4 separate regions of the Homo sapiens genome follow, and all the other regions are linked to region 3. The links are contacts of gene promoters, found by promoter capture Hi-C in blood cells and fetal thymus (Javierre and others, 2016). All regions are on one chromosome and are shown on one strand. Each heading gives the region's core, a stretch centred on a gene start or on the middle of the fragment in contact. The rest is flanking DNA. Distances are from core to core; before and after follow the strand shown. Region 1 overlaps NAPB (NSF attachment protein beta). Region 2 holds the start of GZF1 (GDNF inducible zinc finger protein 1). Region 3 holds the start of ZNF133 (zinc finger protein 133). Region 4 overlaps ANKEF1 (ankyrin repeat and EF-hand domain containing 1).

The links. Contacts are between HindIII fragments. The CHiCAGO score rates a contact against its expected background, and 5 or more counts as called.
Region 1: a fragment that was not itself captured here is called in contact with the fragment with the promoter of ZNF133 in region 3 in 3 of 17 cell types (total CD8 T cells, non-activated CD4 T cells and activated CD4 T cells); the score reaches 9.1 in total CD8 T cells.
Region 2: a fragment that was not itself captured here is called in contact with the fragment with the promoter of ZNF133 in region 3 in 2 of 17 cell types (naive CD8 T cells and naive CD4 T cells); the score reaches 13.0 in naive CD8 T cells.
Region 4: a contact is called between a fragment that was not itself captured here and the fragment with the promoter of ZNF133 in region 3, in 2 of 17 cell types (total CD8 T cells and naive CD4 T cells). The highest score is 11.0, in total CD8 T cells.

What each region holds. Positions count from the first base shown.
Region 1 is chr20:23,417,763-23,420,462 of GRCh38, forward strand. The region is part of intron 1 of NAPB (NSF attachment protein beta); the gene reads right to left. Among named protein-coding and RNA genes, the nearest start is that of NAPB, 2.4 kb to the right of the region's middle. The HindIII fragment of the contact is 962 bases long and covers 776-1,737 here.
Region 2 is chr20:23,360,072-23,362,771 of GRCh38, forward strand. It overlaps GZF1 (GDNF inducible zinc finger protein 1), which reads left to right and starts at 2,111. Exons shown (of 6, transcript NM_022482.5): 1 at 2,111-2,166. RefSeq lists silencers at 1,397-1,486, 1,907-2,396 and an enhancer at 1,577-1,836. The HindIII fragment of the contact is 212 bases long and covers 1,177-1,388 here.
Region 3 is chr20:18,287,168-18,289,867 of GRCh38, forward strand. ZNF133 (zinc finger protein 133) reads left to right here and starts at 1,360. Exons shown (of 7, transcript NM_001352452.2): 1 at 1,360-1,437. RefSeq lists enhancers at 933-982, 1,062-1,967, 1,073-1,412, 1,973-2,092. The HindIII fragment of the contact is 851 bases long and covers 963-1,813 here.
Region 4 is chr20:10,035,655-10,038,354 of GRCh38, forward strand. ANKEF1 (ankyrin repeat and EF-hand domain containing 1) reads left to right here. Exons shown (of 11, transcript NM_022096.6): 3 at 2,604-2,700. The coding sequence starts at 2,648. All of the region lies in intron 3 of SNAP25-AS1 (SNAP25 antisense RNA 1), which reads right to left. Among named protein-coding and RNA genes, the nearest start is that of ANKEF1, 2.0 kb to the left of the region's middle. The HindIII fragment of the contact is 2,646 bases long and covers 99-2,700 here.

The sequences.
Region 1 (2,700 bases), core at 7-2,506, 5.1 Mb after region 3:
CTGCAATGTTTGCATCCCTTGTCAGCTCTTTTCCTGGGGAGGAAGGTGGGGATGGGAAAGGAATATTGATACCTTACCTATCAAGCAGATAAGGCAGAGGATTTGTGCCTTACACAGAGAAGAAATATTTGACTGACATGTTCTCATAAATACATATGCATATTTTCATCTAATTTTACTGAAAGCAAGAAACAAAAGCTATAGAATACTACTAAGAATACAGTATTGCCACAAAACCACTGTGAGTGGTAAACACTAGAGAACTCATGACAGGCTTTAATCTGCAGATAGAGCATTCAGAATGTCTGTGATGTGAAATATCTGCAATATGCCAAGCAGCTTTTAATGACTGCCACAACCTGAAAACAGATGGCTTATCCTCTTTAAAGCACCAGCTAGTCAGCTCTTAAATATATGAGCTCTGATGATATTCAAGTCAGTATGTGTGTTTTATTAATTTTGTATTACATTAATTCTGGAGTCTGACATAGAGATGGATTACTCTGCGTTTTAAATAAAGGATTACATGCAGACCTTTAGGAATGAAAATGGTGACATTCTATAGCTAAGAAGGCAGGGGCAGGGTGGAATAACATGTATTCCAGTCTAGAAAGGTGATGATACATGCCATCTATAAGGTAGGATTCTAAACATCTAAAATTGATACAGAATCTTAATTGTCCTACTGACACAGGAACACTACGTCTGTTTTCTGGCTTCAGTAATTATACAATATTACTAAACTCCTAAAATTCTAAGTACTCTTCTTCCTGCAAGCTTTCCTGGAGCAAGTATTACTGGAAATAACAGTCTTCAAAGTATAAATCACACTTGCATGGTACATTAATGGTTAAAGCTCTTTCAGATATTTTATTTCATTAAAAGATCAATGAGGCTGGGCGTGCTGGCTCACGTCTGTAATCCCAGCACTTTGGGAGGCCAAGGCAGGTGGATCACGAGGTCAGGCATTCGAGACCAGCCTGGCCAACACAGTGAAACCCCGTCTCTACTAAAAATACAAAAAAAAAAAAAAAATTAGCCGGGCGTGGTGGCGGGTGGCTGTAATCCCAGCTACTCAGGAGACTGAGGCAGGAGAATCGCTTGAACCTGGGAGGCGGAGGTTGCAGTTAGTTGACATCCCGCCACTGCAATCCAGCCCGGGTGACAGTGTGAGACTCCGTCTCAAAAAAAAAAAATCAATGATGCAGTCTACGGCTCTGAAATTCTGGAAAAGTTATCTGTTTGGCCTACTGCTTCTTTGATAAATAACTGGAGCTGATAATTTTGATGAATATGCTAATTAATATCTCATGGTCACTGTCTCCAACATCCATGGTTCCAAATGTTTTATAAACATAACCTCACTGAACTCCCATAAATTTTGAGATATACTATTATTGTCTCCGTTTTATACACTGGAAACTGAAGCACAGAGAGGCTAAGTAACTTGCCCTAGGTCCCAAAGCTAGATAATAAACCAACCTGTTGTACCCAGGTAAGAACTAAGATGCATTAACTTTTGTGTAACTGAGTGTGAATGGTGAAGATTCGTCTTCTTATATGTCCTGTCAATAACATAGGTAGCAACATTTAAAAGGGAGATGTTTCTTTAAAAACAAAGGCTTTTCAAAATCCTTTAAGGATTATAAGCTCAAGATTTGGCCTAGTTTCCTAAAAACATCGAAAACCTCTTTCCCAAAAGGAGTGTTCTCCTGAGACAAGCACCAAGTGCTGTCAAGCTTTTTCCTCTGCCAGTTACAGACTCTCCCACAGGGAAGCACTTCCTGACTTGAAATAATGTTGTAACATTAAAATAACCTCCTGGCATGAGGTACTATGACATTAAATTTTATTAGAGTGAATTTTAAATGTTTTGTGAATCAAAACATTTAAAAGGAGTTAGTGTGGCGCTAGCACTTGATGGTACTGTCATAACTTTTAAATGCAAAACAAAACATAATTCATAGCTATATCTCCTACACATCACATGAGAAATTTAGAAACCAGCTGTGATAAACGTCCTCTGAGAGGTTCCTGAGGACAGGGACCCTTATCTTCTTGCATTTTTGCAGCCTTTATGCATTTCTGCAGTTATGCGTACTGCATGCAACTTGTCCTTAAGCATTTCCTAAAGACGTATCAATAGCGGTAAAGTATTATAATTTATAGCCAAAAGAATGAAGTTGGCAAAACAAGCTAAGAGCCCATTATGTCTGTCTTCTGAAATAGAGTCTGAACTGAATGTGTACAGAAATAAAATCGTGTCTAGTCATGCAATGGGTTAAGTATCTGCTCTTGGTAACAGCAAAGGATCTTTCACTTTCAAAAGAAAACAACGAAACAGGCACACACAAAATTTCTGCCTTTCTCATCCTAAACAGCTGAATCATTCACATATTCAACAGCCCAGAATTCTTCCGGGCTGTCAGTGCGGGCTCTGCTTTTTGAGAGGTTGGAATTTAAAATCCTCCTTAGGAGAGCACGGAAGAATTACAGGAAATTAAAGGGATTCCCAAAGGACGCCTGACTTAAACAGCAGCAGCGTTACCGTTAATCAAACAGGAGGCTCTGGCTATCAATCAATCTCCGGAGAAGGAAAAATACTATGCTGAGAAAATATATTCGTTCATTAGTCAAGTATTTACTAAAGGTGTACTCGGCGCAAGGCCCCTGGAGAGAGGCCAACAAGCACACCAGCTC
Region 2 (2,700 bases), core at 33-2,532, 5.1 Mb after region 3:
GTTGTCCAGGCTGGTCTTGAACTCCTGACCTCAGGTGATCCGCCCACTTCAGCCTCCCAAAGTGCTAGAATTACAGGTGTGAGCCACCGCACCTGGCCTAATTTTTGTATTTTAGCAGAGACGGGGTTTCACCATGTTGGCCAGGCTGGTCTTCAACTCCTGACCTCAAGTGATCGGCCCGCCTCGGCCTCCCAAAGTGCTGGGATTACAGGCGTGAGCCACCGTGCCTGACCACCTTTTTGTAATGCAAAACAAAATCATAAAACACGATTCTGGGCCTGCTGGAGCCATGGGTGAAAACTGCGTTCATTCCAATTTCTTCAAATCATGGAATGCAAATATAGAGAGTCGGCCTAAGAAAGATTTCTGTCACTCATTCATTCTTCAAATATTTATTGAGCACCTACTATGTGTGGGAAGCTGGCTCCTGTTCAGGAAATATAATTAAAAGTACAATCTCCCAACCCTCTTCAGAAAGGTAGTGGAGAAAGAAAACACTTTGTAATTGAATAAGCATTAAACTAGAATGTGATACCCATCACAGGCAATCCATTAAGAGACTGCAAAGACAGAACGAAATCTCACTCTTTTGTGCAGCCAAGCAATCTATTACACACATTTTCAAGATAAACAATAACTAGCTCTCAAGGGAACTTGGCAGCATTTTTCATCACACACAGTTCATCTAACCTGATATTTGGGATGATCCTCTGTGTTAGCCAATTGGCTTTATCTAGAGGAAAAAGAAACTTGTATCTTTATGATATGAGATAATTTTGTAAGTTGGAGCAAAGGGCCCACTGAAGTTAGGCTCCTACTCCCCCATTAAAACTGGGAGACAGGGGCATTAACTCCCTTGATACTTAAAGAGATGGCTCCTAGGTCCTAGAAAAAGACATATCTAGGTTATAAAGCGCACAAAAAGGCCTAACTAGTCTTCAAAAGGATTTATATATTTCAAAGAGAGGAAAAAGTACTTACACTAATTACCAATTTTCTAAAAGTAAATGTTCGAAGAAAAAGGGAGGGAAATCTCATATTTTCAACAGGAAGTAGTAAACCTTATTTTAAATTTGTATTTGTCCTGACAGTCCCCAAACATTACAAACTCAACGTGTCGGTAAGACAAGGCTGAGTTAACTGCTGGCCACAGTAAGGGACAGCATGACCTGGCAAAGCTTTACCAATGGCTGGGAGCAAAAGGCAAGGTCAGTTTATTGAGAACTGGAAGTCTGACTCAAGGAAGGTGTTTCAAAGCGGGCTTTAGTTAGTATTGAGCAAGAATTGGTGGAAACAGCAAGATTTCGAGGAGTCAGCGAATCTTAGGGAATCAATTGTGCTTTCCCCGAAGAGTGGATGGGTCTCTGGGGAAGTTCTGTAGTGAACAAAGCTTTCGCCCGAATGGGAACTCCTGGAAATAAAGCCCTGCAGTAAAGACGGCAGGGTGCGGTCCCGGCTCCTGGCGCGCCGAGCCCCCCAGCAGGGCGGGGGCACCGCGGAAGAAGCGCCCCAGAGGAGAGCGCCGCGCCGAGCCCCGCCTGGCGCCAGTTCTCCAGCGCCCGTGGAGGCATCTGCGCCCCTAGTAGCCAAGGTGAGTACCAGCTCCAAGCCCGGCTTTCCGCGAGGTCCCTCGCGTGGCCACCGTGCCCTAAGGGTGCGCTCGGCCTCGGGGACGTGAGCAGCTCTTAGTGGGAAGCCAGCTGCAGGCCCTGACCGCAGGCTGCTGGGGCCCGGAAGCGCTGGCGCCTTGCGGCCAGAAGCCCGGAATGGACGCGAAAGTGACCACGCGAATCTGACGCTCACGTGACTTTTCGCGACTGGCCCCGCCCCCCTGTGGCGTGCCGCAGCGCAGACGTCGCTGTCTCCTGCGCAGGCGCAGGCCTTGGCTCGCGGCGGGTGACGCAATGCGGCGGGTGACGCAATCCGGCGTCGCCAGTCAGTCGCGCGGCCAGATCAGGTAACTGCCCGAACCGCTCCGCCGCCCGACGTGTGGCTCAGCCCCTTCCTCAGCCCCGCCAGGGGCGGGGCCGGCCGCGGGAGGGGAGGGGCCTGCAGCGACCAATCGGCGGTGCCCGCGCAGGGTGCTACGCCACGCCCAGCCGGGCCGGCCGTTCCTACCGGCCTGGTCCAGCGGACAGCGGCTGCAGCGGGGGCGCCGGCTGGGAGGTGAGTGCGCGGCCCGTAGGCCTGGCTCCGGCCCCTCGCCGCCCGCCGCCGCCTCTTTGTCCGCGCGCCCCGGCTGCTCTGTGGACCTGCGCGTCTCGGGGATGCGGGAGCGGGGGCAGGGGGCGGCCCGAGGGCCTGATCCACGCGGCCCCGGATGCCCGCGTCGGGAGGCGGCGCGTCGGGCCGAGGAGGGGCTTCTCTGTGGCTGCAGTAGTTTGTTCTCTGGGTCGTCTTTGGAGTGGCCGAGCGGCGTCCGGGCGCTGGGGCGGCCAAGTGGCGCGGGAAGGGTGGGAGGTGCCGTGAGGGCGGCGAGGACAGCGGCGGATTTAAGCCCCACTGGAAACCCCGGCCCTTGTGGCCGTGGACTGGGCTGCGGGTAGCAGCGTCTCCTGGAAGGGCTCTGGCCCCGTGAGCCTCGGGGATTCAGGGGCCGCCGACGTTGGTGCAGATGCCGGGCGCACTGGGAGGCGGCCGGAATGCCAATGAGATTCGGCGGATACGCAGCTGTCACCGGCCGCAGACTGCCCTGTCGCC
Region 3 (2,700 bases), core at 110-2,609:
CTTCCTACACTCTTCCTTACTCGTCTGTGTTCTTCCAACTCCTCATCTTGCCTAATTCCTCAGGCAGCACCTCATCCTGTAAGTCTTCATTTCCAGGCTTAAGAGATGTCAGCCATCTGTGTCTTTATTGTACAGCCAGCACAAGTGAACACTTGAACACAGGCATCCCTGCATTGTTGTTCTGAACCTTTATGTGTATTAACAACTAATTTCTTGGTGATGACTGACTCATGAGGCAGAGAATGATGTTGAGGGATGAATCCAATTGACACTGGACATGTCTCCGGAGCCAGGACTGAACTGAATTCACAATAAATAATGTAGCCTCGGGGTACCAGAAGGGAATGGATTCACCCTCTGAGAGCTACAAAAGAATTTTAGGAAATTCTCATCTCCCTGGCCCTTCAGACAGTGGTCATTTTCTTGGTCTTCCAAGAGAATGACAAAGTTTCAGAAAGCCTATCTGAGGAAGGTGAAGGGCAGTGAGAGGGTGCACGGGTGGAAAAGCCCTCTCAAGAGTGACGTGGGCCTTCCCCTCGAGCTCCCCAGATGGGGCGTCCCAGATGGCACCAGCGCAATCTTGTTCTCAACCAGGATCCCGGACAAAGACCTAGAGATCCAAGCCGACGGCAGGCCAAGCTCTGGCCCGAGACTGAGGCTTCTGCTTCTCAGGAGATGAGAGTTTAACAATAACTTCGTGGATTTCAAAAAGAAGAAAAAGGTCTCAGGGCACCGGAAAAGGTGTATTCGGGTTGAGGGCGTGGGCTCAGAATCGGGTCTACCTCGTACGGGATGTGAGACTTCAGGCAGACTGCTCGGCCTTTTCAAGGCTTTAAATGGAGCTAAAGGGTATACGACATGACGTTCGCCCGGTGTTTAGGAATATGGGGCGTGACTTTCCAAGCAGGCGGCTGGAGCCAGGGAGACCACAGGCCGCTGCAACACAAACCAGCACCTGAACAAGCTTGGTCAGCCAGCGGTACACCTCCGCCAACCCCAGAAGCCGAACAGATGCGCCCCGAAACGTCATTTCCGCGCGCCAAGGGGCGGGGCCGGTACCGGGTGCGGAAGTCGCTCCAGGGGTCACTGGGAAGTGTAGTTTTCGAGACAGAGGCGCTCAGAAGGAGGGTCACAGTAGGGCCAGGCACTCTTCTCGGGAGCTCCTACGTGTTTTATGCACGTGGTTAAGAAAAAAGAGGGAGAATTCAGGTGCCACAGTGGCCATTCTCCGGTGACCGGAGCGTGTTACTCAGAAACGGATCCGTCAGAGGCCAATGGGAGCTGCCGGCCTTCAGGGCGCGCCTGGTGGCGCCGAGCATCCTGGGAGGTGTGGTCCGGGCGCTGTGCCGAGGATTCGGGGTAGTGTAGTCCTGGCGCCCCGCTGGAGGAGCTCCCCAGCTGGTGGCTGGAGCGACCCCTTGTTCTTTGGTGGCGCTGGTGAGTGAGGCTCCCGCGGGACCCTTGCCGCAGCCGTACCCTTTTCTGCGCGAAAAGGAAGGTCCCGAAAGGCTGGACTATGGGCTGAATTTGGGGACCGTGCGGGTGGCGCGGGGGTGGTGATTGTGGTGGGAACGCGCTGGCGTGGCGCAGGCCGTCCTCTCCCAGATGTCTTATTTTGGGGGTGTGGGCGTGCATCTCCAGGGGAGTTGGGTGAAGCCCATCCGTGAAACTGGATGGTGATGAGTGGGGGATCGGGCTCTCTCTCCTAGGGTTCTTGTGGGTGGGGACAGGTTCGGCTTTGGCTGAAGTCGGGTATTGGGAAAGGGAGTCGCTGATGCCATAAGTCCCCGGTTTTGGGGGAGTTGAATAAATAAGCTTTTTGGGGGAATGGTATTTCCCAGGTGGTGGAATGGGAACCATCCCTGGGGCCATGTGTCCCCGAGGCATTGGTCGGTTGAGGGCTAGTCTCTTGGGGCCACACTATTCTTCGGCTTTGCTGGAGTGGAATGAGGAGCGGTCTGGCTTGACCAAACAAGCCAAGGTTAGACTGGATCTGGGGTGGCCATTTTGCCGCGATCTTAGGGTTTCACTTTGGTTGGTCACCCCCGGGTTCGGGCGTTGGAGGAGGAAGTCTGGCTGGGACGCACAGGACAGGTTTTTTCCAAAGGTCCCAGGGACCGTCATTGATCGCAAGAATTACGGATTCCCAGGCCCCTGGTGTGGCCAGGCTTTGGGATTTTACATTCCATTTAAGTTTTTATTGCGGAGAAATTTCAAACAGCCAGAAGTAGATAGAACTCTATAGACCAGATCTCCATCACCCAGATTCAACACTTAAAACCTTATGACCAATCTTGATTCATCTCAGAATGGACACAGAGAATCCTTGCAATCCAGAGTTCACCGTCACTGCCCTTACTGTGTAAGAGCACGGTCTCCACAGCCACATTTCCTCTAGGCTCTGTCACTTTATAGCTGTGTCACCTTGGGCAAGATGCTGACTTCACTGTACCTCAGTTTCCTCGATTTTATCCTAAAGAGGATAATAGCATCTATCGTATTGGGTTGTTGAAAGGATAGAATGAGGTGAAACTCCTACAGTGGCTGTAACAGTCTCTGGTGTATACTAAGTGTTCAGTGAATATTACCTTTCATTAATAACAGGCACAGAGAAGGTCGCTTCATGCTCAGCGTCAACAGCATATCAGGGCAGGTCGTGCTTTCAACCTGTACCCCAGCTGTGTTCCCAGGAAGCTGCCC
Region 4 (2,700 bases), core at 172-2,671, 8.3 Mb before region 3:
TCCATATTTATATCCAACTAGTTTGTGTAAATAATGATACAGGGAAGGGAGGATCACAACGGATTTCCCCACCTCAAACCCTACATTCCACTGTACCAAGCTTGTCTTCCTCCATTCCTCTTTCTAATGATCCTTCCTTGTCGCACAGCCCCCCTTTGAGAGTTAAATGACCTGAACACACACAGATTCCCACAGATTTTCATGTAATTTCCGAGTATTCAGACCCCGAACATGGACCTCAAGTCAAGACATTCTGCTCTATTCCACTACCTTGGTAGATGGTTAGATGTGACTAAGGTGGCCCAGGGTCATGCTGGGGAAAAGTACAGGTGTGCTTGTATGTGGAGGATCCTATATGCTGCTCAATTTACAAGGAACCCAGGACCCAAGGGCTACACTTGTGTGATTTCCTGCAGTGGGGTGAGCTCTTGGTCAGTCTTAGCAGTTGATTGTGAAGGACACTATACAGGGTGCTGCCCTCTCCCCAGCACTTCAGGGCTTTAGCTGGGAGGGAGGCAGTCCACAGGAAACCGACCCATGGACCTACTGAATTCATCACTGTAGCTGCTAATTAATTCTCCGTTAGAGATGGGTGCTAACAGAGGCAACATTGAAGTCCCTGATTGGGAAATCCTTATTTTCACAAATCAAGTGGCATTGATTCAGTCTAATCATTACCTATGTAGGAGCATCTTGCCCTATTCCATAGATGACACATATACATATGCAGTATGATGACACCGCACCTAATCGGAATATGGCCGATAATAATAAAACAAGCCATAAATAGCAGCTAAGGTGAGTGTCACCAAGCCGTGCAGCAAAGTCCAAGTGGATGACTCTGAGGCAGCCTCAGTTGGTTCCCTAGTCCACCGCATGTTATAAACAGATTAAAAGGCAAAGGAGGCCTGGCCCGGTGGCTCACGCCTGTAGTCCCAACACTTTGGGAGGCTGAGGCGGGTGGATCACCTGAGGTCAAGAGTTCAAGATCAGCCTGGCCAACATGGTGAAACCCTGTCTTTACTAAAAATACAAAAATTAGCCAGGTGTGGTGGTGGGCACCTGTAATCCCAGCTACTCGGGAGGCTGAGGCAGGAGAATCGCTTGAACCCAGGAGGTGGAGGTTGCAGTGAGCCGAGATTGTGCCACTACACTCCAGCCTGGGTGACAGAGTGAGAGTTGGGCTGAGGGTCGAGGGTCATGGGATAGGGCGAGACACCAGGGGAGTGTGTGAGGACAGAAAAGAGTCTTGAGGACCTAGCCCTGGGCACCCAACATAGGCTTCTTGAAATGGGGAGTCAGCAAAGGAGCCTGAGCAGGAGGGGGCATTGGTGTTGGATGGAAGCAGGCGATGGAGATGTTGTGGTGCCTAGAGAGACACATTTAAAGGAGAGAGAGCTCACTGCCGTAGAGAATGTAGGTGAGGGAGCAGGCTTGCGATGGAGAAAAATGGTGCATAGTTTCAACTTTTGTAGTAAGATGGAATCTTTTCATTGCAAATGTTGGAAACTTAGCTAACTAGCTTATACCAAAATAAGGTGACGGGGGAGAAGATGTATTTACCCACAAAGTGGTAGATGGCTTCTGGCACCATGGAATCCATGTTGCAACTAATGCCATCAATCTCAGTCTCTCTCCATCCTCCAAGCATGGACTCTCTCTGTGGCACCCAAGAGAGCTACCTGCGCCCCAGCCCCACACCATACTGCTTAACAACTTCAGCAGAATAGTCTTCCCTCATAGTTCTGGATGATGGGCTGCTGATTGGTTGATGTCTTTTATGCACATATGCTTGAGCTTCAGTGTACCTGGAAAGGGATGGTTCCCTCAAATGGGCCAAGCCTAGGCCACAGACGCTTTCCTCTGGCAGGGGACAGAAGGGACAGCCCCATCCAAACGACCCGGATAGGATTCCCTATGTGATAATGGAGTTCTTTTCTCATAAGAAATGAAGAAACAACTGGTCATACCTAGCATGGCCTGCTACTCAATCCAAAAGATTTTCCGTACAAGGAGGTAAAATTACATACTAGAATGCCCATCACAATTTAACAGGGAGATTGTTTATGAAGATTTGCAGTTTCCTTGCAGCCATTTAACTACATCTTTTCCACTTAAGATGACATAGGAATCACTCATCACATCTCTGATATGTTACAGAGCCCAGTAGATTTGTTTATAATGAACACCTCAAAATTATATGTTTTTATAACACCTTAAAACTATTAAAACCTGCATGATCTCTCTATTTTGCTGGTGTGAAACCATGTAGATAGATGGTGGGAACTCAAACCCTTACCATGGCAATTTAGTTAACCTCAGCTTCTTCATGGTAAAATGGTAAAGTGTGATGAGGAGGGAAGGTTAAATGGATAATAAGAAAACCACCTGGCAAACTATTTTTAATTATGATGGAAGATTTGTTTGAACTGTTTTAACTTTATGCCCACTCAATATTTTTGATATTTATGTATAAATCCTACTTTCTGAACATTTCTTAAAAAACAATCTCTGTTCTTAAGGAAGTTCCAAAATATTGTTATTTAATCAAAATGAAGATGATAAAATTAACTTTGAGTTATTTTTCTTTTTTGTTGCTTCAGCTTTAGTTTTGGTCCAGAAAGCATTTTCAAGGAGCTGGTCAAGCATGGCTTTAGCAGATAAGAGACTTGAGAACTTACAGATCTACAAAGTTCTTCA